Regions from separate parts of the Homo sapiens genome. Here all the other regions are linked to region 1. Evidence: promoter capture Hi-C in 16 types of primary human blood cells and fetal thymus (Javierre and others, 2016). All regions are on one chromosome and are shown on one strand. The core of a region is centred on a gene start or on the middle of the fragment in contact, and the rest is flanking DNA. Distances in the headings are between cores, read along the strand shown.

The links. The method cuts DNA at HindIII sites, captures the fragments that hold promoters and counts their contacts. A CHiCAGO score of 5 or more calls a contact.
Region 2: a fragment that was not itself captured here is called in contact with the fragment with the promoter of CTSK in region 1 in 4 of 17 cell types (erythroblasts, neutrophils, endothelial precursors and 1 more); the score reaches 6.6 in erythroblasts.
Region 3: a contact is called between a fragment that was not itself captured here and the fragment with the promoter of CTSK in region 1, in 1 of 17 cell types (neutrophils). The highest score is 5.3, in neutrophils.
Region 4: a contact is called between the fragment with the promoter of RPRD2 here and the fragment with the promoter of CTSK in region 1, in 1 of 17 cell types (neutrophils). The highest score is 5.1, in neutrophils.
Region 5: a fragment that was not itself captured here is called in contact with the fragment with the promoter of CTSK in region 1 in 2 of 17 cell types (endothelial precursors and erythroblasts); the score reaches 5.5 in endothelial precursors.
Region 6: a contact is called between a fragment that was not itself captured here and the fragment with the promoter of CTSK in region 1, in 2 of 17 cell types (total B cells and naive B cells). The highest score is 5.3, in total B cells.
Region 7: a contact is called between a fragment that was not itself captured here and the fragment with the promoter of CTSK in region 1, in 2 of 17 cell types (neutrophils and endothelial precursors). The highest score is 5.6, in neutrophils.

The regions. Positions count from the first base shown.
Region 1 is chr1:150,806,504-150,809,509 of GRCh38, forward strand. It overlaps CTSK (cathepsin K), which reads right to left and starts at 1,757. Exons shown (of 8, transcript NM_000396.4): 1 at 1,711-1,757; 2 at 183-303. The coding sequence starts at 302. The HindIII fragment of the contact is 11,451 bases long and covers 1-2,290 here.
Region 2 is chr1:150,497,292-150,500,602 of GRCh38, forward strand. It overlaps TARS2 (threonyl-tRNA synthetase 2, mitochondrial), which reads left to right. Exons shown (of 18, transcript NM_025150.5): 10 at 239-456; 11 at 1,211-1,373; 12 at 1,606-1,743; 13 at 1,925-2,002. Among named protein-coding and RNA genes, the nearest start is that of MIR6878, 6.6 kb to the left of the region's middle. The HindIII fragment of the contact is 608 bases long and covers 1,398-2,005 here.
Region 3 is chr1:150,458,974-150,462,528 of GRCh38, forward strand. It overlaps RPRD2 (regulation of nuclear pre-mRNA domain containing 2), which reads left to right. Exons shown (of 11, transcript NM_015203.5): 9 at 1,087-1,344. Among named protein-coding and RNA genes, the nearest start is that of TARS2, 27 kb to the right of the region's middle. The HindIII fragment of the contact is 5,293 bases long and covers 1-3,555 here.
Region 4 is chr1:150,362,055-150,365,465 of GRCh38, forward strand. RPRD2 (regulation of nuclear pre-mRNA domain containing 2) reads left to right here and starts at 2,093. Exons shown (of 11, transcript NM_015203.5): 1 at 2,093-2,865. The coding sequence starts at 2,661. RefSeq lists enhancers at 388-1,330, 1,311-1,380, 1,541-1,850, 2,601-2,880, 3,364-3,411. The HindIII fragment of the contact is 10,239 bases long and covers 536-3,411 here.
Region 5 is chr1:150,481,391-150,484,549 of GRCh38, forward strand. LOC124904416 (a long non-coding RNA gene) reads left to right here and starts at 3,121. Exons shown (of 2, transcript XR_007066600.1): 1 at 3,121-3,159. The HindIII fragment of the contact is 5,385 bases long and covers 1-3,159 here.
Region 6 is chr1:150,436,484-150,439,932 of GRCh38, forward strand. All of the region lies in intron 2 of RPRD2 (regulation of nuclear pre-mRNA domain containing 2), which reads left to right. Among named protein-coding and RNA genes, the nearest start is that of TARS2, 49 kb to the right of the region's middle. The HindIII fragment of the contact is 5,634 bases long and covers 1-3,449 here.
Region 7 is chr1:150,513,424-150,516,654 of GRCh38, forward strand. FALEC (focally amplified lncRNA regulator of ECM1) reads left to right here and starts at 2,329. Exons shown (of 6, transcript NR_186305.1): 1 at 2,329-2,639. It overlaps ECM1 (extracellular matrix protein 1), which reads left to right. Exons shown (of 10, transcript NM_004425.4): 10 at 1-366. The coding sequence ends at 44. RefSeq lists enhancers at 1,774-1,843, 1,914-2,063 and a silencer at 2,154-2,523. The HindIII fragment of the contact is 2,789 bases long and covers 502-3,231 here.

The sequences.
Region 1 (3,006 bases), core at 507-3,006:
TACAGTTTGACAGAGGATGATTTGAAGCATAGGAATGAAAACCGTATGTTAACATGAGTTAGGGAAGAGGGACTGATTTGCTTGGAATAAAGCATTTGGATTGAAGAAGGGAGTCTGGAAGCTAAGATGAGAGAGCTCAGGTCTCAGCCTTCCTGCCATGCCCCCTCCAGGACCCCAGGCACCTTGTTGTTATATTGCTTCCTGTGGGTCTTCTTCCATAGCTCCCAGTGGGTGTCCAGTATCTCCTCAGGGTACAGAGCAAAGCTCACCACAGGTAGCAGCAGAACCTTGAGCCCCCACATCCTGCAGAAGAATGTAGTTAGGGAAAACTCTTCCATTTGGCAGGGAAACAGAGGAAAACTAGGCTTTATGAGGAAGAGAAAGGTAGACGGAAAAAGGGTGATAAAACAATGATAGTCAGGAGGGGCCTGTGTTTAGATAGGATGCTGGTACATCTGGTTCCAAGGACTTTGATCTAGGGGGATTTAGCCATTTCTCTCTTTCTCTCTCTCTCTCTCTCTCGGGAGATTTAGGCAACACACACTCTCTCTGTTTCTCTCTCTGTCTCTCTCTCTCTCACACACACACACACACACACACACACACACACACACACACACACGTACACAACCAGAAATGGGGGATAGAAACTGGACAATCAGAATGGGCTCAGTGCGTTTCCTCCAGGGTCCCTAGCAGGCTTGGAGACAGACAAATAGCAAGGTGGTAGTGGGGTTCAGAATACACAAAGGAGAGATTTCCGTCTAAGTTTTGCCTCCTGATCATTTCTTCGAGGCGTTCTTCTCTTTCGTGCCTAAATTCTGGTACTTTCCCAGATCTTGTCAGAAGAGGACAAGGGAAAATAGGACAATGTTTCCTGTTTTCTGAGACATTGTATATCTCCTCATTCTCCTTATGCATTTCTTCTTCCTTTTTCTCTCCCTTCCCTCCTTAGGCAGGAAACTGCCCTAATCTTAACCAGATGCTGCGGGCAAGGTTTTTTATTTTTCCCCTAACAACAAAAACCCACTGTGGCTGCCGCAAAGGACAAGAAGCCTCAGATCCAAGGTTTGTTAGAAGAATGTTCAGACTGAAAAGCAATGTTCTATGATGATGAAATTCACAGCTTTTCATAAGTTTACTCTAGTTAGCTTCACTCATTTCTTGCATTGGCTTTCTTAATTACAAATCCTCCATTTTAAGAACAATTTGCAGCCTGCAGCATGACATATGGCTTACACAATTGCTTATAGTCCATTTACATGTAATTTTGCAAACTGGCAAAATGTCCAGTAGGACATTTAAAAACTAGAGTGTTAAGGGCTTTGAGATGTCTCAGTGAACAGGAAGCACTGAGCTACTACCTCCCCATACCACTCTCCTCCTCCTCACTAAGGAGTTAACCGTTTTGATCCTTGTTGGCCAAAGTAGAAAACACTGCAGAAAGGCCACTCTTGAAGGATGGGGAAATGATTCCCTATATACTTTGCTTTTACTAACAATCATGTATGTATATATATAAATCATACAAGGAATTCTACAGATTTCCAGGCAGATTTTATTTAGCCAGGGAATGACCTAAGAAGTGCATCTCTGTTTTCATCTGCAGAGGCTAAAAGTTTATTGTGATCCTCAAGTCACTACATCCCTAATACTCAGAGAATTGACAGGAATGAAAAGCTAAAAGATCTAGGAAGTTGCAAACGTTACCTGCTGATGGAAATCTGTTGTCTGGCTTCGTTTCGGCAGCAAAGTGTGGGCACACCATCAGGGGTGCTAGATTTATTCCATCGGGATTGCGGAAGTCAGCTCCAGTGATCGGCTGGAAAATTTGGGTAAGAGGAGGAGGCGGGGATAGAAATGCTGAGAGAAGGAAGGGTAGGGAGGAGGGAAGGAGGCAGTGGATTTGCAGTGTTTCTGTGTGTATGCAGCATGTGTGCCAGGGTAGGGAATTACTAGCTATTTAGTCTCACAAGACTGTCTTTGGTGGCAAATAACAAGACCTCAATATCTATTGACTCAAATAGGAGCTTACTTTCTCTTTTGGTGAGTAAAAGGAAGGACACAGCCCTAGTCTCTCCCATCCTTCTTCTTCAATATCTTTATTTTAATATTGGGGGATTATATCTTTTCCTACCCCTTTCCTGTTAGGATTTACCTCTCCAACATTGAAACCTATTTTCATATTTGTGTCTGACTCTCACCTCTGGGATGCGGTAATGAACATAAAAGGCTATAAAAGAATAATGTAATGGAAGCCATAGGCTCCAGAATTCTTTGTATTTTTATAAGCTTGTTGGTTGCAAGTTGTCATTACTTCCAGGCAGAATAGTTTTCCCAGCCTAATGTGGTTTTGCTGAAGGAGGATATGCCCAGAAAGTCCAGATGAAACTGTCTTTAAAAGTAACCAAAAACAGCAGTCCTGGTTATTTATGACAGCACTTGAATCAATGCCGTAAGTTCTGATGGACTCACATGTGACTCTGTTGCTAAAACTCTCAGGTGGTGGGATGCCCGATAAACATCATCTGTCTCAATTAAAATCCCCAATCTAGGACAAGTCACATGAGCTTCTCCAAATGCTTCCCCAACATCCAAGCATGTGACAGATCATAAGAATCTAGCTGATTCCTCAAACCACACCCCAAACTTCATTTTCTTCCATAAACAGATGTGGGGAAGGAGAAAAAAAGGCTTCTTGGAATAGAAAGGATAATAAATGGGATCTGTAATAGACTCAGTTTCTAGCTGGATTCCATGCATAAACCCTCAAAAATACAGGCTTATGCCTCTGGATTTTAAGAGCTGCTAACAGGCTAGGCGCAGTGGTTCACGCCTGTAATCCCAGGCCTTTGGGAGGCCAAAGCATGTGGATCACCTAAGGTCAGGAGTTCGAGACTAGCCTGGCCAACATATAGTGAAACCCCATCTCTACTAAAAAAAAAAAACACAAAAATTAGCTGGGCATGGTGGCACACACCTGTAGTGCCAGCTACTTGGGAAGCT
Region 2 (3,311 bases), core at 452-2,951, 310 kb before region 1:
AAAAAAAAGGTGGGGGGGCTGGTTTGGAATCATAAACATAAATATTGAAAGTGCTGGTGACCTTTAATACTACAATTGTGTGGTCTGCAGTCGGGGAGCATAGAGATGGGACCTGGTATTTAATAGGTTGTGGTTGCAATCAGCATGGCCTGAGGGCCCAGGAAGATCACACAGCTGACACCCTACCTGCTTTCCTTCCAGTTACTCTGACCTTCCATGTCTGTACCCTCCTCTCCAGGCTGAGTATGCCCATCGTGGTTTCTCCGAGGTGAAAACTCCCACACTGTTTTCTACGAAGCTCTGGGAACAGTCAGGGCACTGGGAGCATTATCAGGAAGACATGTTTGCCGTGCAGCCCCCAGGCTCTGACAGGCCTCCCAGCTCCCAGAGTGACGATTCTACCAGGCATATCACAGATACACTCGCCCTCAAGCCTATGAACTGCCCTGCACACTGGTAAGCTGGGAGCTAGGGTTACAATCAGGTTGCTAAATATTAAATAATAGAAAGCACCTTGGGGCCGGGCACGGTGGCTCACGCCTGTAATCCCAACACTTTGGGAGGCCGAGGCGGGCGGATCACCTGAGGTCGGGAGTTTGAGACCAGCCTGACCAACATGGAGAAACCCTGTCTCTACTAAAAATACAAAAAATTAGCCGGGCACGGTGGCGGGCGCCTGTAGTCCCAGCTACTCAGGAGGCTGAGGCAGGCTAATGGCGTGAACCCAGGAGGTGGAGCTTGCAGTGAGCCGAGATCGCGCCACTGCACTCCAGCCTGGGTGACACAGCGAGACTCCATCTCAAAAAAAAAAAAAAAAAGAAAGCACCTTGGAAAGAGTATTGGGACACCGATTTGAGCCTACAGTCTTCCCCCTAGCTAACCATGTAAATTTGGGAAACTCATTTTACCTCTTTAGGTCTCAGTCTCCTTAAAGTTGCTATCTAAGGCTCCTCCTTCAGCTCAGTGACCATCACAGAACAGGGAAATGGTAAACGATGTCTGTTATTGTGTTACTGAGAAATCCACTTTTGAACCTCAGGGCTCAGACTGTGATGAGTGGGATTGACAGGACTCAGTGGGAGGATGTGCTGAGGCTGGAGAGGGTTATAGCAGATGGTGCAGAGAAAGTAGGCAAGCAGATTGGGTGGAGGAGCAGTCTTCGGGGGCTAGTCCTCCCTATGGCCCTGACCCCTCTGCACCCCAACCTCAGCCTGATGTTCGCCCACCGGCCCAGATCCTGGCGGGAACTGCCCCTGCGACTAGCTGACTTTGGGGCTCTACACCGGGCCGAAGCCTCTGGTGGTCTGGGGGGACTGACCCGACTGCGGTGCTTCCAGCAGGATGACGCTCACATCTTCTGTACAACAGATCAGGTGGCCTTTCCCTGGCTCCACCAAAGCTTTTCTAAACCACCTTTCTTTCTCCCTATGAACCTGCAAACCCCTGATCTTTATTTGCCCCCTGTATGTACTATAATTCAGCTACATTCTACCCCCAGCTTGCTTCCGCTTCCTCTCTGTTTTTGCCCTTTGTTTTCCTCAAACTGCCAGCATCCCTGATCTCTAGCGGGCTCACAGCTCACTGACCCTTATTTCCTGCCCCTAGCTGGAAGCAGAGATCCAAAGCTGTCTTGATTTCCTCCGTTCCGTCTATGCCGTTCTTGGCTTCTCCTTCCGCCTGGCACTGTCCACCCGGCCATCTGGCTTCCTGGGGGACCCTTGCCTTTGGGACCAGGCCGAACAGGTGAGTAGGAGGTAGAGAAATAGAGGCAGATAAACCACTCTCTGGTGGGAAGGAGTGGAGAATACAGTAATCAAGGTTCTCAGAGGCATCTGGTGAGTGGGTCATTTGTTGGGGACTGACCGGATGTGTTGCTTTTGAAGTCTAAGATGATGTATTCCACTCTTGTCTCATTCCTTCAAAGGTCCTTAAACAGGCCCTGAAGGAATTTGGAGAACCCTGGGACCTCAACTCTGGAGATGGTGCCTTCTATGGACCTAAGGTAAGCTTGGGACCCTGGTTAGTGTTGTATTTATTTATTTTTTGCTTTGTTTTAGTAAATATTTAATAGATACAAAGAATTTTTTTTTTTGAGACAGTCTCACTCTGTCACCCAGGCTAAAATGCAGTGGTGTGATCTCAGCTCACTGCAACCTCCAGCTCCCTGGTTCAAGCAATTCCCCTGCCTCAGCCTCCCGAGTAGCTGGGATTACAGGTGTACGCCACCACACCCGGCTAATTTTTTTGTATTTTTAATAGAGATGGGGTTTCGCCATGTTGGCCAGACTGGTCTCGAACTCCTGACCTCAGGCAATCCACCCCACTTGGCCTCCCAAAGTGCTGGGATTACAGGCGTGAGCCACCGCACCCGGCCACAAAGAAATATTTTTAAACTTACGTAGGATATAAAGAAAAACAATATACTTTCTGCCCTCTTGGCATCTGCAATCTAGTGAGGGCTGCTGAAGGTAAATAGGCCATATCAGTGCTGCGAGATCTGTGCTGTGTAGGTACCAAGAGAGCACGTTAGCTGGGGTTAGCATTACTCGGGGAGGTTACAAAAGGTGTCCTGCAGGAATCACTTTCCAATCTGAAAGGTGAGTGTTGGCCAAGTAAAGATGTGTTTCAGGAGGGAACAGTGTAGGCAGAGGCTGGGGATAAGGATGAAAACACATGGCAGACCAATCTGGGCAACACAGGGAGACCCTGTGTCTACCAAAAAAAAAAAAAAAAATTAGCCGGGTGCAGTAGCTTGTGCCTGTGGTCCCAGCTACCCAGCAGGCTGAGATGGGAGGATCACCTGGTCCCAGGAGGTAGAGGCTGCAGTGAGCCGAGATTGCGCCCCACTGCACTCCAGCCTGGGTGATAGAGTGAGACCCTGTCTCAAAAAAAAAGAAGCCAAGGGGAAAAAAGGACTGAAAAGTGTCCACTGGATTTAGTAAAAAGGCTGCTGGATTTCAAAGGACCATTTTCAGTAAAGTAGGGCCTGAGGGTGGAGTTAGAAGATGAATAAATGAGGCCTGTGTGGTGGCTCACGCCTGTAATCCCAGCACTTTGGGAGGCCGACGTGGGTGGATCACTTGAGGTCAGGAGTTCGAGACCAGCCTGGCCAACGTGGCGAAACCCCATCTCTACTAAAAATATAAAAATTGGCCGGGTGAGGTGTTAGGACACACCTGTAGTCCCAACTACTCAGTAGCCTGAGGCAGGAGAATCGCTGAACCTGGGAAGTTGCAGTGAGCCAAGATCACACCACTGCACCCTAGCCTGGGCAACAGAGCAAGACTCCGTCCCAAAAAGTAAAAATAAAA
Region 3 (3,555 bases), core at 550-3,049, 350 kb before region 1:
AAAATTTAAACTTACATATGTGGCATATGTGGCTTAAATTGTATTCATGTTAAATAGCACTGTTTTGGGATGAGGGGTCACTTATACTGGAATTCCTTATTCTCTGTCACTTTTGACCATCAAGAATTCCAAAGTCAGTTTGTTAATCACACTTTCAGAAATAACCTGATTTGGTGAATTGTTTCTCTTATATCCCCAGCCTTCATAAATCTTATTAGATAGTTTGACTCCTGTTGAATTCAATGCACTATTGATACAGCCCTTAAAGCATTAAAAATAATTATTCAAGGTGATTGAGAGTTAAAACATTGTAGTTTCAAATTAGCTAGTGCCTGATTGCACCCCCCAATAGGGCAATTTCAGGAAGCCAGAGGAAAATACAATGAACACTATAGAGGTTCTGTTTCTAAGAACAGAAGTTCTTAGAAAGTTCTCAGGTTAATGGAAAAGAAAAACACAGGACAATTTATGAAAAATATCATTTCCAAAAGACAGAACACAAATGTGTACCAAATAATAACATGCTTCTTGAATTGTACAGATTTAATACACAAATACTAAGAAAATGCAAAGGAATCATTGAAAAGTAAGATACAAGATAAATTCTGGAAATTGCTTGCTTTTTTTTTTTTTTTTGAGACGGGAGTCTCGCTTTGTTGCCCAGGCTGGAATGCAGTGGCACAATCTCGGCTCATTGCAACCTCTGCCTCCTGGGTTCAAGCGATTCTCGTGTCTCAGCCTCTGTAGTAGCTGGGATTATAGACGCCTGCCACCACACCTAGCTAATTTTTTGTATTTTTTGTGGAGGCAGGATTTCACCATGTTGACCAGGCTGGTCTCGAAATCCTGACCTCACATGAGCCATTGTCCCCAGCTGGAAATTGCTTTTAAGCAGATATTAAAGGTGGGAATTATCATAAATTATGAAGAGTATGACTTTTTCAAAAAAGCATGAAGTGAGTCGTTGTTTTCTCTAAAGTAGTGCCTTTTCCCCCAAGTCCGGAAATATTAGGACATGTTATTTCATATAGGAAGCAAAGTCTGGAAAGTAGTAGGATGTAATATCTCTTTTCTTTGTTGAAACAGTCGAGGACAGGAAGGAAAAACCTGCAGAGAAGTCAGCTGTATCCACTTCTGTACCTACAAAGCCAACAGAAAATATCTCAAAGGCCTCTTCATGTACCCCAGTGCCTGTGACCATGACAGCAACTCCACCTCTTCCAAAGCCTGTGAATACTTCTCTTTCCCCTTCCCCAGCATTGGCTTTGCCAAACCTGGCTAATGTGGATCTGGCAAAGATCAGTTCCATCCTTAGCAGTTTAACATCAGTCATGAAAAATACTGGTAAGTAAGCCCAGTAAGGAGGATAAAAAGTTAATTTCCATCTTTTTAAATTGAATCATTAATCTGTTTTTGGGGGGGTTGTTGTTGTTGTTGTTGTTGTTGTTTAGACAGAGTTTCGCTCTGTCTCCCAGGCAGGAGTGCAGTGGTGCAATCTTGGCTCACTGCAACCTCTGCCTCCCGGGTTCAAGTGTTCTGCTGCTTCAGCCTCCCAAGTAGCTGGGATTACAGGCACCTGCTACCACGCCCGGCTAATTTTTGTATTTTTAGTAGAGATGGGGTTTCACCATGTTGGCCAGGCTGGTCTTGAACTTCTGACCTCAGGTGATACACCCACCTCGGCCTCCCAAAGTGCTGGGATTATAGGCGTGAGTCACCGTGCCCAGTCTGTTGTTGATTTTTTTTAATTAATGATTTTTTTTTTTTTTTCTGAGACGGAGTTTCAGTCATGTTACCTAGGCTGGAGTGCAATGGTGCAAACTTCACTCACTGCAGCCTCCATCTCCCAGGTTCAAGCAATTCTGCCTTAGCCTCCCAAATAGCTGGGACTACAGGCATGTGCCACCATGCCCAGCTAATTTTGTATTTTTGGTAGAGACGGGGTTTCACCATGTTGGTCAGGCTGGTCTCAAACTCCTGACCTCAGGTGATCCACCCATCTTGGCCTCCCAAAGTGCTGGGATTACAGGCGTGAGCCAGCGCACCCAGCTAAATTAATTGTTAAATTAAAAAATAATCCAATAATCGGTCATTATAGAAAAATTAGAAAATAAGCAAAGAGAATGAAATAAATATCTAGGCCAGGCGTGGTGGCTCATGCCTGTAATCCCAGCACTTTGGGAGGCTGAGATGGTAGATTGCCTGAGGCCAGGAGTTCGAGACCAGCCTTGGCAATATAGTGAGACCCTATCTCTAAATAAAAAATTTTAAATGAAAAAAATTTTTTAATAAATATCTATAATCCTGTTACCCCAAAGGAAACCACTTGTGTTTACCCTTAAAAGTATATGTGTATATGAATGTTTTGGAGAATTAAATATGTATAACAATTTTTAAAAAAGTAAGTGTATTGCATATACTGTTTCAAAACTAGCTATTTAAAAGTTAATTACATATCTTGAATGTTTTTATGAATCATTAAATATTTCTCTACATCATTTTTAATAGCTGCATAGCATGTGGTAACTTATCTAATCCTTTATTATTAGGCACTTAGTATGTTTCCAGTTTTTTACTGTTATGAAGAATACTATAGGGCCAGGTGTGGTGGCTCACGCCACCACTTTGGGAGGTGGAGGCAGGTTGATCACTTGAGGCCAGGAGTTGGAGACAAACCTGGACAACATGGCGAAACCCCATCTCTACTTAAAAAAACAAAAATTATGGCCGAGCGTGGTGGCTCACACCTGTAATCCCAGCACTTTGGGAGGCCGAGGCGGGTGGATCACGAGGTCAAGAGATCGAGACCATCCTGGCCAACATGGTAAAACCCCGTCTCTACTAAAAATACAAAAAAATAGCCAGGCATGGTGGCGGGCGCCTGTAGTCCCAGCTGCTCGGGAGGCTAAGGCAGGAGAATGGCCTGAACCCAGGAGGCGGAGCTTGCAGTGAGCCAGGATCGCGCCACTGCACAGCCTGGGCGACAGAGCAATACTCCGTCTCAAAAAAAAACAAAAAACAAAAATTAGGCCAGGTTTGGTGGCTCACGCCTGTATTTCCAGCACTTTGGGAGGCCAAGGCAGGCGGATCACCTGAAGTCAGGAGTTCAAGACCAGCCTGGCCAACTTGGTGAAACCCTGTCTACTAAAAATACAAAAATTAGCTGGGCATGGTGGCATGCATCTGTAGTCCCAGCTACTTGGGAGGCTGAGGCAGGACAATCACTTGAACCTGGGAGGCGGGGGTTGCAGTGAGCCAAGATCACGCCACTGCACTTCAGCCTGGGCAACAGAGCAAGACTCCGTCTCAAAAAAAGAAAAAATTCGCCAGCTGTGGTGGCACGTACCTGTAATCCCAGCTACTCATAAGGCTGAGGCATAAGTATCATTTGAACCCAGAAGGCAGAGGTTGCAGTGATCCAGGATCAAGCCACTGCACTCCAGCCTGGTTGACAGAGCGAGACTCTTGTCTCAAAAAAAAACAAAAAACAAAAAAAAAACCTGTAAATTATAAAAATTTTATGAATAACCCTTTGCAAGGGTTAAGTATATAAAA
Region 4 (3,411 bases), core at 843-3,342, 440 kb before region 1:
ACCGTGCCCCGCCTGAAATGCATATTATTAAGTGAAAAAAGCCAGTCTGAAAAGGCTACATACTGAATGATTTCACCTATATGACATTCGGGAAAAGGCAAAACTATGAAGACAGTAAAAAGATTAGTAGTCGCTAGGGGAATAAGGGGGAGGGAAGGATGAATAGGTGGAACACAGAGGTTTTTAGAGCAGTGATACTGCTCTGTATGATACTGTAATGGTGGATACATGCACATTTGTCCAAACTCAAGGTATAACACCAAGAGCGAACCCTAATGTAAACTATGGGCTTTGGGTGATAATGTGTCAGTGTAGGTTTGTCAGTTGTAACAGATGTATCGTTCTGGTGCGTGACATTGATAATGGGGGAGGGTATTCATGTGTGGGGGCAGGTGGTATATGGAATTCCTTGTGCTTTCCACACAATTGCCGTGAATCTAAAACTGCTCTAAAAATAGTCTATAAAAAAGTGGGTCTTTGGCTAGAGTTACAGAAAAAAAAAAAATGTGGGGTCAGGACCAGGCATGGCGGCTCAAGCTTATAATCCCAGCACTTCGGGAGGCTGAAAGCAGGAGGACTGCTTGAGGCTAGGAGTTTGAGACCAGCCTGGGCAACATAGGGAGACTCCCCCTCTCAAAAAAATGTTGTTGTTGTTGTTTTGTTTTTTTAGCTAGGTGTGGTGGTGCAGGCCTGTAGTCCCAGCTACTTGTGCTGCTGAGGCAGGAGGACCACTTGAGTCTGGGGGATTGAGGCTGCTGTGCGATATGATAGTGCCACTGCACTCTAGCCTTGGCAGGGACAGAGCGAGACTGTATTTTAGAGCCTTTGCACTTGCTGTTCCTAATGCCAGCATGTTCCGCTCCCCGTCTCGCATATCTGCTTGGTTGCTTTTTTCTCAATGTTCAGATCGAGTTATTTCTTTCGAGAAGACTTCCTGGTTCACCATACCACCATTCTTATACTGGCGCGTGCGTGCCGTGCACACGTACACACACGCGCGCACACACACACACCCCTTTCTCCCTTACCCTGCTTCACCTTTTTACAGAATTTAATACTGTCTGAAATGTACTTGTTGGTGGTGTCCTGCCACTAAATCCCGGAGGGAACGGATTTTTGTCTGTTTTGCTCCCCATGATCTAAAACAGTACTTGGCACAAGAGGTTCAACAACTCGTTGAATTAATGAATAGTGGACATGAACTTGACAAAACAGGTTCCCTGCCTCAAGAGGCATGGCCGCAGTGAGGAGACGTTAAAAGAATTAAAACTGTATATGTTTAGTGGGAACACAGGAGCCTTTAAATTAGCTCAGAGGATTTACATAGATACCTGCGATAAAATGGTTCGTATAAGGTTCATATAATAGTTACGTAAGACTCTTGAAAACTGTAATGTATTATGCAATTTTAAGATTGTATCATAGCTGGCGAAAATGAGGTCACATCTTGCCATTCTTTTTTCGCCTCGAAAAATTTTATGAGGAAAATTTCCTTTCACTTCCTCATTTATTTCCTTTTCCTGTAACCTAAATGGTCAAGCGGCTGTGAATGTTATCTTCTATGGGCAGCAATAAATACGGTTTGGTGTCGGAGTCTGCGTAGTGAATGGCTCACTGGATCTGGCGCATGCGCATCTTTTGTGGTGCCGCAAGATGGCTGCCAGCCATTTTGTCGCGCGTTGCTCCTCCGAGGAGTTGGGGGCGATGGCTGCAGCCCCCTGAAGACTAACAGTGGTCTCAGTGGTGGGAATTTTCTGTCTCTGTTGTGTGAGCTGAACACACCCAAGAGAGCGGCCAAAAGCAGCAAAGGGCGGGGCAGGGGAACCCCCCCACCCGGCTAACCTTAGTTATACCAGCTCCCTCACCCATCCCTCCCAGTTTTTCCTTCCATCCCGTTACACGCTTATCTTCTGCGCAGGCGCAAAAATAATCGTAGCGCCTCCTGGGCCCTGGGGGCTTCAGAGCTCCTGCGCGCGCTTGTGGTTCTCCACTCCTGATTGGTCAGGTTGCCCCGCCATCACGCCTCCCTCTGCTTTCAAGGTTGAGAAGGAAGCAGGGGTAGGGGGGTGGGGCCAAGTGGCGCGTGCGCGATACTGTTGCTGCCCCTTTGCTGCTATTGCGTTGCAAAAAAAATCCTGACTAGGTAGCCTTGGACCTTTTCTGTGCTAGCGAGTCTAAAGGAAAGAAAGATTTCTGCAACTGAAGGGGCAGTCGGGTAGTATTACATTTAAGATATTAACGCCCGACCTGGCTCACAGGAGTGTGGGAACAGGGGCGGGGAAGGGCCTTAGCACTGAGAGCCGAAAAGTATAAAACGATTAGTTTCGGCGTCAGGCGTTTTGAAAGGCTTTGCAGGTCCTGTTTTCTGCGTAATTTTTCCGTGATTACTGACTGGTTTAAACACGACCCCTTGAACAATATTGATAAAACCTCCGAGACCCGCAGCCCCTCCTTGCAGCGTGTAGGAGCTGCCAGCGTGCCCAGCAGCTGGTGTTCCCGTCCGTACCTCCAGAAGAGCCCAGCGCGTGCACCATCCCCACCCCCTAGCTTCCCTCCCCACCTACGGCTTTCACGCACTCGCAGTGATTGTTTTGCCCGCTCCCGCCGCCGCCGCCGCCGCCGCCGCCAGAGGAGCAGCAGCGCTTGTGCAAACCGGGAAGATGGCGGCCGGCGGCGGCGGAGGCAGCAGTAAGGCCTCCTCCTCGTCGGCCTCTTCGGCAGGGGCTCTGGAGTCCTCGTTGGATCGAAAATTCCAGTCGGTAACCAACACCATGGAGTCCATTCAAGGCTTGTCGTCTTGGTGTATAGAGAACAAAAAACACCACAGTACTATCGTCTATCATTGGATGAAGTGGCTCCGGAGATGTGAGTGTTGGGGGTGACTAGGGAAGGGAAGACTGGGGAAATGGAAGGAAGTGTGGCCTGAAACGCTTGGGGTTTTCCCACGGAGCCGCAGCATTTGGTTGGGGTTGTTCACATTAAAGGTTTGACCCCAGTGGTCCCAAACCCAGACTCCATTCCTAGCCAGGATTGTCCTGAATTGCAGGAGACTCATTTCTTGGGTTTTTTAGCCATTGAATTGTTGTGACCTTGGGCCGTTGGGCCCAGATCCATGGAGATTTACGTATATTGTTTTTAATATTTCAGAGCCTTGTAAGGTGTATTGATTTTTCCGAACCTTCGCGGAAATTGTAGCGTCTGTTTATTTCTTACAGGCCTTGACGTGTTAATGATTTCTGGCTTTCCTGATGGTAGGCGAGCTGTGGTTTTAAGCAGTAGTAAATCCAGTGATGTTTAATGAGGAGTGCCTTGTCTGGATGAATGTATCTAAAACTTGTGATGTGTAGTAAGGAGAGCCTTACCTGGATGAATGTTAAGAAGCAGCATGAGCTCTACATAGATCTGAGGCAC
Region 5 (3,159 bases), core at 226-2,725, 330 kb before region 1:
AGGGAATTATTTTTTAAAAAATAAACCTAACTTCCCTACCACTTGTGCCTTTAGCCACTTGGCTACTTCTCTGGGCCCCAAAGGTTTTTGTTAGCAATGACATAATCCTTTCTTTTCTTTCTTTTTTTTTTTCTTTTTTTTTTTTTTTTTTTGAGACGGAGTCTTGTTCTGTCTCCCAGGTTGGAGTGCAGTGGCATGATCTTAATTCCTTGCAACCTCCACCTCCCAGGTTCAAGCGATTCTCCCGCCTCAGCCTCCCGAATAGCTGGGACTACAAGCGTGCACCACCATGCCCAACTAATTTTTTGTGTTTTTAGTAGAGATGGGTTTCACCATGTTGGCCAGGCTGGTCTTGAACTCCTGACCTCAAGTGATCTGCTCACCTCACCCTCCCAAAGTGCTGGGATTACGGGTATGAGCCACCACACCCGGCCTCATAATCCTTTCTTTATATATTTTACCTTATTCCTTTTTTTTTAACCTCTAATATCTTTTTTTTTTCCTTTGAGACGGATTCTTGTTTGGTTGCCCAGGCTGGAGTGCAGTGACACGATCTCGGCTCACTGCAATCTCTGCCTCTGGGGTTCAAGTGATTCTCCCACCTCAGCCTCCCAAGTAGCTAGGACTACAGGCATGCGCCACCACGCCAGGCTTTTTTTTTTTTTTTTTTTTTTTTTTTTTTGAGACAGAGTCTCTCTCTGTCACCCAGGCTGGAGTGCGGTGGCGCAATCTCGGCTCACTGCAAGCTCCGCCTCCCGGGTTCACGCCATTCTCCTGCCTCAGCCTCCCAAGTAGCTGGGATTACAGGCATGTGCCACCACACCTGGCTAATTGTGTATTTTTGGTAGAGACGGGGTGTCTCCATGTTGGTCAGGCTGGTCTCGAACTCCCGACCTCAGGTGATCTGCCCGCCTCAGCCTTCCAAAGTGCTGGGATTACAGGCGTGAGCCACCGCGCCTGGCTAATTTTTGTATTTTTAGTAAAGACGGGCTTTCACTATGTTGGCCACGCTGATCTCAAACTCCTGACCTCAGATCCACCTGCCTCAGCCTCCCAAATGCTGAGATTACAGGCGTGAGCCACTGCATCCAGCCTTCTCTTTTTTTTTTTTTTTTTTTTTTGAGACGGAGTCTTGCTGTGTTGCCCAGGCTGGAGTGCAGTGGTGCGATCTCGGCTCACTGCAAGCTCCGCCTCCCGGGTTCACGCCATTCTCCTGCCTCAGCTCCCGAGTAGGTGGGACTACAGGCGCACGCTGCCACGCCCGGCTAATTTTTTGTATTTTTAGTAGAGACGGGGTTTCACCATGTTAGCCAGGGTGGTCTCGATCTCCTGACCTCGTGATCCACCCGCCTCGGCCTCCCAAAGTGCTGGGATTACAGGCATGAGCCACTGTGCCCGGCCTCTGCCTTCTCTTTTTTTTTTTTTTTTTTTTTTTTTTTTGAGACAGGGTATCATTCTGTTGCCCAGGTTGCAGTACAGTGGTGCAATCACGCCTCACTGCACTGGATCTCCTGGGCTCAAGCAATCTTCCCACCTTAGCCTCCCAAGGCACATACCACCATGCCCAGCTAATTTTTTATTTTTTGTAGAGATGGGGGTCTCACTATGTTGTCCAGGCTGTTGTCGAACTCCTGGACTCAAGCAATCCGCCTGCCTCAGCCTCCAGTGTTGGGATTACAGGCGTGAGCCACCACACCCAGCCAAATATACTTTCTACATCTTTAGTGCTTCTAAGAAGTAAGATAGATTTGGAGGTATGTGCTGATCCTGAGGACAAGTGGAAAATATTTACATGTAGTTTAAAGTTACATGTAGTTTAAAGCTATAAAAACAATACCTTCTGAACTAGGACTCTAGTCACCTTGGAATTTCTATTCCAAAAGTGGAGTTAAGCTGAGAATTTCCTAAAATTTTACTAAGGGCCTAGGACACCCTTCACTGTGGATTCCCTTTTTCCTGCACTTCTGTGGAAATCTAGCTTTATTTTGTGCACACTTTTTTCCTTAACCTTAATCTGGTAGAGAAAAGTCGGAAGACGCCTCTTTTCTTGGCTTTCTATTGGACCCACCTCTTTTACCCTATATCAAAGGCCTATTTGGCCACAAGTATCAGAATCTTATAACCTGACACATTATGACCAATCTGGTCCCTGAGAGGCAGTATGGCATAGCATAAACAACAAGGGCTTTGCATTCAGATAGACTGGGGGCTTTACTTCTTTGAGAATCATTTTCCTGTTTTAAAGGGAGTATACTTGACATAGTTGTTTTAGGAATTAGGTGAAATAGTGAAGGCATAGCACCGGGTGTTCAGTAGTAGTCTAGGGTGGAGGGGCAACAGCCCAAGTTTTAAGAATAGATGTTTCAAGCCAGGCATGGTGGCTCACGCCTGTAAACGCAGCACTTTGGGAGGCCAAGGCAGGTGGATCACCTGAGGTCAGGAGTTCAAGACCAGCCTGGCCAACATTGTGAAACCCCATCTCTACTAAAAATACAAAAAAATAGCCAGGTGTGGTGGCGGGCACCTGTAATCCCAGCTACTCGGGAGGCTGAGGCAGGAGAATCGATTGAATCTGGGAGTCGGAGGTTGCAGTGAGCCAAGATCGTGCCATTGCACTCCAGCCTGAGCAACAAGAGTGAAACTCCATCTCAAAAAACAAAAAACAGGCCGGGCACAGTGGCTCACGCCTGTAATCTCAGCACTTTGGGAGGCCAAGGTGGTCGGATCACGAGGTCAGGAGTTCGAGACCAGCCTGACATGGTGAAACCCTGTCTCTACTAAAAATACAAAAATTAGCCGAGCGTGGTGGCGCGCACCTGTAATCCCAGCTACTCAGGAGGCTGAGGCAGAAGAATCACTTGAACCCGGGAGGCAGAGGTTGCAGTGAGCCAAGATAGCGCCACTGCACTCCAGCCTCGGCGACAGAGCAAGACTCTGACTCAAAAAAAATTAGCTGGGTGTGGTGGCGTACACCTGTAATCCCAGCTACTGGGGAAGCTGAGGCAGGAGGATCACTTGAACCCAGGAGGCGGAGGTTGCAGTGAGCCAAGATCATGCCACTGCACTCCAGCCGGGCAACAGAGCAAGACTTCACCTCAAAAAAAAAAAAAAAAAAAAAAAAAAGAATAGATGTTTCCTAGGCTGACTAATGGATTAAAA
Region 6 (3,449 bases), core at 466-2,965, 370 kb before region 1:
CCAGCTACTCCGGAGGCTGAGGCAGGAGAATGGGGTGAACCCTGGAGGTGGAGCTTGCAGTGAGCCAAGATCGCCACTGCACTCCAGCCTGGGCAACAGAGCAAGACTCCGTCTCAATTAAAAAAAAAGAAATACAGGGCTGGGCATGGTGGCTCACACCTGTAATCCCAGCACTTTGGGAGGCCAAGGCTAGTGGATGGATCACTTGAGGTCAGGAGTTCAAGACCAGCCTGGCCAACATGGTGAAACCCCGTCTCTACTAAAAATAAAAATTAGCCAGGCATGGTGGCACACGCCTGTAATACCAGCCACTCAGGAAGCCGAGGCAGGACAATTGCTTGAACCCAGGAGGCAGAGGTCGCAGTGAGCTGAGATCGCGCCATTGCACTCCAGCCTGGGCAACGAGCAAAACTCCGTCTCAAATAAAAAGAAAAAATACAGGCTGGGCACGGTGGCACACGCCTGTTATCCCAGCACTTTGGAAGTCCGAGATGGGAAGATCTCTAGAGCTCAGGAGTTTGAGATCAGCCTGGGCAACATTGCGAGACGTAGTCTCTATTATTAAAAAAAGAAAGAAAGACATTTTGTAAGGCTATAGTTGCCGCTAATAATGATTCCTTTTATGGATCTGGGCAAAGGAAATTGAAAACCTTCTGGAAAGGATTCACCATTCTAGATGGCATGAAGAACATTTGTGATTCATAGGGAGAGGTCAAAATATCAACATTAAGGCCAGGCATGGTGGCTTTTAACACCTGTAATCCCAACACTTTGGAGGCCAAGGCAGGCAGATCACGAGGTCAAGAGATCGAGACCATCCTGGCCAACATGGTGAAACCTTGTCTCTACTAAAAATACAAATATTAGCTGGGTGTGGTGGTGCATGCCTGCAGTCCCAGCTACCATGATCAGTCATCATCAAGGCAAGACCCTCCACCAGCAAAAAGAATATGATTTGCTGGAGACTCAGATGATTGTTAAGAGTTTTTTAGCTATAAAGTATTTTTTTAACTAACATATGGATATTGTTTTTAATACATAATGCTATTGCACACTTAATTGACTATAGTATAGTGTAAATGTAACTTTTTAAAAATTTATTGGTTTGTTTTTAGAGACAGAGTCTTACTCTGTCACTCAAGCTGGAGTGCAGTGGTGTTGTCAGGGCTCACTGCAGACTCGAACCCCTGGTCTCAACCGATTCCCCCACCTCAGCCCTCCAAGTGGCTGGGACTACAGGTGTGCCCCACCACATCTGGCAAGTTTTTGTATTTTTTGCAGAGATGGGGTTTCGCCACGTTGCCCAGGCTGGTCTCAAACTCCTGGGCTCAGGTGATCCGCCAGCTTCAGCCTTCCAAAGTGCTAGAACTGCAGGCGTGAGCCACCGTGCCCAGCCTAAACTTTACAATTTTCTAGAGGTTTATTAACCAGAAAGAACAGACTCTGTTGTCACTTCTTATATTTTTTATGCTGAGATTCTTTCTGTCATTATTTAAAAAAAAAAAAAAAAAAAAGTTGAGCCAGGAACCGTGGCTCACGCCTGTAACCCCAGCACTTTGGGAGGCCGAGGCAGGCAGATCATGAGGTCAGGAGTTTGAGACCAGCCTGGCCAATACGGTGAAACCCCATCTCAACTAAAAAAATATATATACAAAAATTAGCCGGGCATGGTGTCACTGGCCTGTAGTCCCAGCCACTTGGGAAGCTGAGGCAGAAGAATCGCTTGAACTTGGGAGGCGGAGGTTGCAGTGAGCGGAGGTGGTGCCACTGCACTCCGGCCTGGGCGACAGAGCAAGACTCATCTCAAGAAAAGAAAAGAAAAAAAGTCATGCGTTGCTTAACATCAAGAATATGTTCTGAGGCCAGGTGCGGTGGCTCACACCTGTAATCCCAGCACTTTGGGAGGCCAAGGCGGGCAGATCACTTGAGGTCGGGAGTTCAAGACCAGCCTAACCAACATGGTGAAACCCCGTCCCTACTAAAAAAAAATACAAAATTAGCTGGGCGTGGTGGCAGGCGCCTATAATCCCAGCTACCCCGGAGGCGGAGGCAGGAAAATCGTTTGAACCCAGGAGGCGGAAGTTGCAGTGAGCCGAGATCGCACCATTGCACTCCAGCCTGGGTGACAGAGCAAGACTCTGTCTTCAAAAAAAAAAGAGTATGTTCTGAAAAATGTGTCATTAGGGAATTTTATCCTTTGAACATCCTAGAGTGTACTTAAATAAACGTAGATGGCATAGCCTACTAAAAACCGAAGCTATGTTGTGTAGCCTATTGCTCTTTGGCTGTAAACCTGCACTGCATGTCACTGTATTGAATACTATAGGCAGCTGTAACAATGGTAAGTACATATCTAAACTTTTTTTTTTTTAAACGGAGTCTCACTCTGTCTCCAGGCTGGAGTGCAATGGCGCAATCTCAGCTCACTGCAACCTTCGACTCCTTGGTTCAAGCAATTCTCCTGCCTCAGCGTCCCGAGTAGCTGGGATTACAGGCATGTGCCACCGCACCCAGCTAATTTTTGTATTTTTAGTAGAGACGGGGTTTCACCATGTTGGCCAGGATGGTCTCGATCTCTTGACCTTGTGATCCGCCTCCCTCGGCCTCCCAAAGTGCTGCGATTACAGGCATGAGCCACCACACCCGGCCGTATCTAAACATTATAGAACACAGAAAATTGTGAAAAGTATAAAGAAAAATCCACTCACTTTCACCAAATGGAGATTTACAAGATAACAATTTCAGCATTACTATCTTACAGTCTTTTTCTTCTATAAATGTTAGTATTGTATTTGAAACCAGTCACACACATAGTCAGGCATACCTTAGAGATATTGAGATTTCAGTTCCAAACCACCACAATAAAGCAAATATTGCAATAAAGCATGTCACACGCAGGTGGATCGCTTGAGCCCAGGAGGCTGAGGCTGCGGCTGCAGTGAGCCAAGATCATGCCACCATAGTTCAGCCTCGACAACTGAGTGAGACCCTGTCTCAAAAAAAAAGAAAATTGTAAGGTTTAATACAATTTTCTCTGTTTCTTACATAAGCCATTCTTAGGCAAGAAAAAAATTCTTTGTGAACACATGATGTTATGGATTCATAGGCTCTCATCCTTGAAAGAGGCCTTAAGTTTGACATAGCTTTTTTTTTTTTTTGTCTTCAATCTCCATATGGTTTGGTGGATTCACTTAAGGAGAGGTTACATTCCTGTTTTGTCTTTTGATAGATCTATGAAATTATTAGAATGGTTTCTGTTCTTTGGCAGATCTGCTAGAATAAAATTTCTTTTCTCTACGGCTTCATACTTTTGTCCTTGTTTTGCTTCCTGAGATCACACCAGTTTGATTCCTCTCCCTGACAATGGTTACGCCCTTCCTGCATTGTTTTTTATTTCTTCTGCATTTCACGTAAGACATAATTAAAATCTTTACTTAAATTATTAACTT
Region 7 (3,231 bases), core at 646-3,145, 290 kb before region 1:
GAGGAACAAATATCAGCTCCACCTCTGAGCCCAAGGAAGAATGAGTCACCCCAGAGCCCTAGAGGGTCAGATGGGGGGAACCCCACCCTGCCCCACCCATCTGAACACTCATTACACTAAACACCTCTTGGATTTGGTGTCCTCATTGTCTATCTAATGTCTCACCCGCAGTGTTTTAAGTGGATCTTGGTGCCCTGGCCCAGGAGGGCACTGGCGTTTTCAGACACACCACAGACAAACACACCCTCCTAAGCCTGCTTGTATTTCCTTCAGTGCCTGGCCCCTGAGGCCCACGGCCCTGCCCCCTTCACTGAGCAGATGTTCACAGGCTGTGGGATGCGACCATAACTAAACAGCTTGACGTCACTTTGCCATCTTGAATTTATTCACATATTTTGAAAGGAGTGCCACCTTGTTAGCTAGCTATCAGGACTCAAAGAAGATATGGTTCTTGGCCTTGGTGAGCCCCCAAAATGCCACAGCCCAGCCTAACATTTTTAAAGCTTCACTTTTGATCCTTAGAATTCATGCCTTCATTCATTCAATATCCTTTTTTTTTTTTTCTTGAGACACAGTCTCGCTCTATCGCCCAGGCTGAAGTGCAGTGGCACGATCTTGGCTCACTGCAACTTGCAACCCTCCTGGGTTCAAGCGATTCTCCTGCCTCAGCCTCCCGAGTAGCTGGGATTACAGGCGTGCACCAGCACACCCAGCTAATTTTTGTATTTTTAGTAGAGACGGGTTTTCACCATGTTGGCCAGGCTCCCAAAGTGCTGGGATTACAGGCGTGAGCCACTGTGCCTGGCCAATATCCATTTATTGAACCCCTATCTATGCACACTCTGCTAGACTTGGGGATACACATCCAGAACACACACAGCCCCTGCCCTGAGGTTGTTCACTGTCCCTGAGCCTAGCAGGTGTGACAAGTGTTGTGGTACAGGGCCCCCAGCGTGCTCTGAGCATGACAGGAACGTCCCGAGGTGGGAGTGGGGCTGGGGGCAGCACAGGTGCACAGGAGGGGCGTTGAGGTCAGAGTTTCTCCAGTAAAGAAGTAGAGGGTGTGAGCGGGCAGAGTGCGCACAAGGGTCAAGGCTGAAAGGACCTGACTCTTTGGTGGCCTTCCTCTCTGATATGGCTGGAATGATAAGCAGGAGCTCATCACTAATGCCTCACCCGCAGGGTTTTAAGTGGATCTTGGTGCCCTGGCCCAGGGGGCACTGGCGTTTTCAAGCGGAGGATGTGTTCCAATTTGCCTTTTAAGAATGTCTAGGCCGGACGCACTGGCTCACGCTGTAATCCCAGCATTTTGGAAGGCCGAGGCGGGCGGATCACTTGAGGTTAGGAGTTCGAGATCAGCCCGACCAACATGGTGAAACCCCATCTTTACTGAATTAGCCAGGCGTGGTGGTGCCCACCTATAATCCAAACTACTCGGGAGGCTGAGGCACGAGAATCACTTGAACCTGGGAGGTGGAGGTTGCAGTGAGCCAGTATCGCACCACTGCACTCAGCCTGGCCGACACAGCGAGACTGTGCCTCAAAAATAAAATAAAATAAAATAATGTCTAGTCGGAGAGCCGGGGAGGTGGCGCGCGCCTGTAATCCCAGCCACCCAAAGAGCTATGGTCTCGGCACTGCACTTCAACCTGCGAGACCCAGTCTCAAAAAGAAAAAAAAAAGTTTAGTCGGCAGCCAGCAAGGCGGGACGCTGGGAGGCCAGTTCAAAGAGTGTCGTCCCAAGTGCCGGAGGGACGGAGCTGTAGCCCCCAACCTGAGCTGGACCCGAGGGTGGCGGTGACTAGGACTCTCAAGCCCTACAAAGCTGCTCCCAGGAACCCGAGGCCTCAAGGCTGGATCTGAAAGAATCGGAATGAAGACTCGGAATGAAGAGTCCCAGGGGAACAAGTCCTGTGTGACTCCGCCGCCAGGACGACCTTCCAGAAAGCAGACTTCTCCGCTCCAGTTCTAGCGGAGACGGAGAGAGTGAACCAAGAACCATCATCCTGCGCCAGCCAGGGGCAAGCGGAGCCTCAGTTGCTCCCAAACCCACGCCCGCCTCTCCTTCCTCTCCTCCTCCACAGGCTTTCATTTATTTACTTAAGTATTTTTAGCCCAGTAGCAGTTTCCAGTCCAGCGGCTCCTCAGATCTTTCGCCGGCTGTCCGCCCCACCTGTCCGTCAGCACGCGAGCCAATGAGCGGGCGAGGGCAGCGCTGTGCCCCGCCCCTGAGCCGGCAGCCCAGTCTCGGGAGCCCGGGGCCGCCTGGGCCTCCTGCCCGCCGCGCTCGAGTCTGGAGCTCGAGAGTGACACTGCGCATGTGCGGGCGTCCTGCGCATCTCCTACGGCCTCCAGGACAGAGGAACCGGGGGAGGCAGGGGGAAAAGGCCGGCCCAGCAATTCCCCTACCCCCCGGTCCCACGTGTACCCTCCTGGCCTGGGTCGCCCCAGCCCACGGGGAGCGGGCGGAGTCCTGGCCCACGAAGCCTTGTCACCTGGCGGGCGAATCCGCAAGCGGAGACTTGTCTTTAAAGGGCTTTGGGCCGGGCGCGGTGGCTCATGCCTGGAATCCCAGCACTTTGGGAGGCCGAGGCGGTGGATCACGAGGTCAGGAGTTCAAGACCAGCCTGGCCAAGAAGGTGAAACCCCGTCTGTACTAAAAATACAAAAAAAAAAAAAAATTAGCAGGGCGTGGTGGCGGGCGCCTATAATCCCAGCTACTCGGGAGGCTGAGGCAGAGAATTGCTTGAACCCGGGAGGCGGAGGCTGCAGTAAGATCGCGCCACCGCACTCCAGCCTGGGCGAGAGAGGAGACTCTGTCTCAAAAAAAAAAAGGGAGCGGGGGGGCTTTGGTCTGTGCAGGAGCTTCCCGGAGATGCTTTAGAGCTGCGTTTGCAAAGTGCAGCGCCAAATGCTGCAGAGAGGTGGGAGTCAGAGGAGAGGAGGACTGCGGTCCCAAACCCTAGCAGTTTAGTCTGTCGGGGAGGAGAGGAAGGGAACCCGGAGAGCACTTGTAAGCTACAGTGCTGAATATGAGGAGGTACTGAATTGAGCATCAAATGCTGAGAGTTAAAGAATTCTCCCTAGGGACCAGCCAGCTATTATCTGGAAGCAGTGAGTTTGGATAGAGCCTGGAAGCACGGGTAGCATTGCTGTTAGCAATAAAAGGTGAACGTGTTAACATTCACTGCAATTCGTTGTATACACTATTAAAATATAACTTGCTCAATT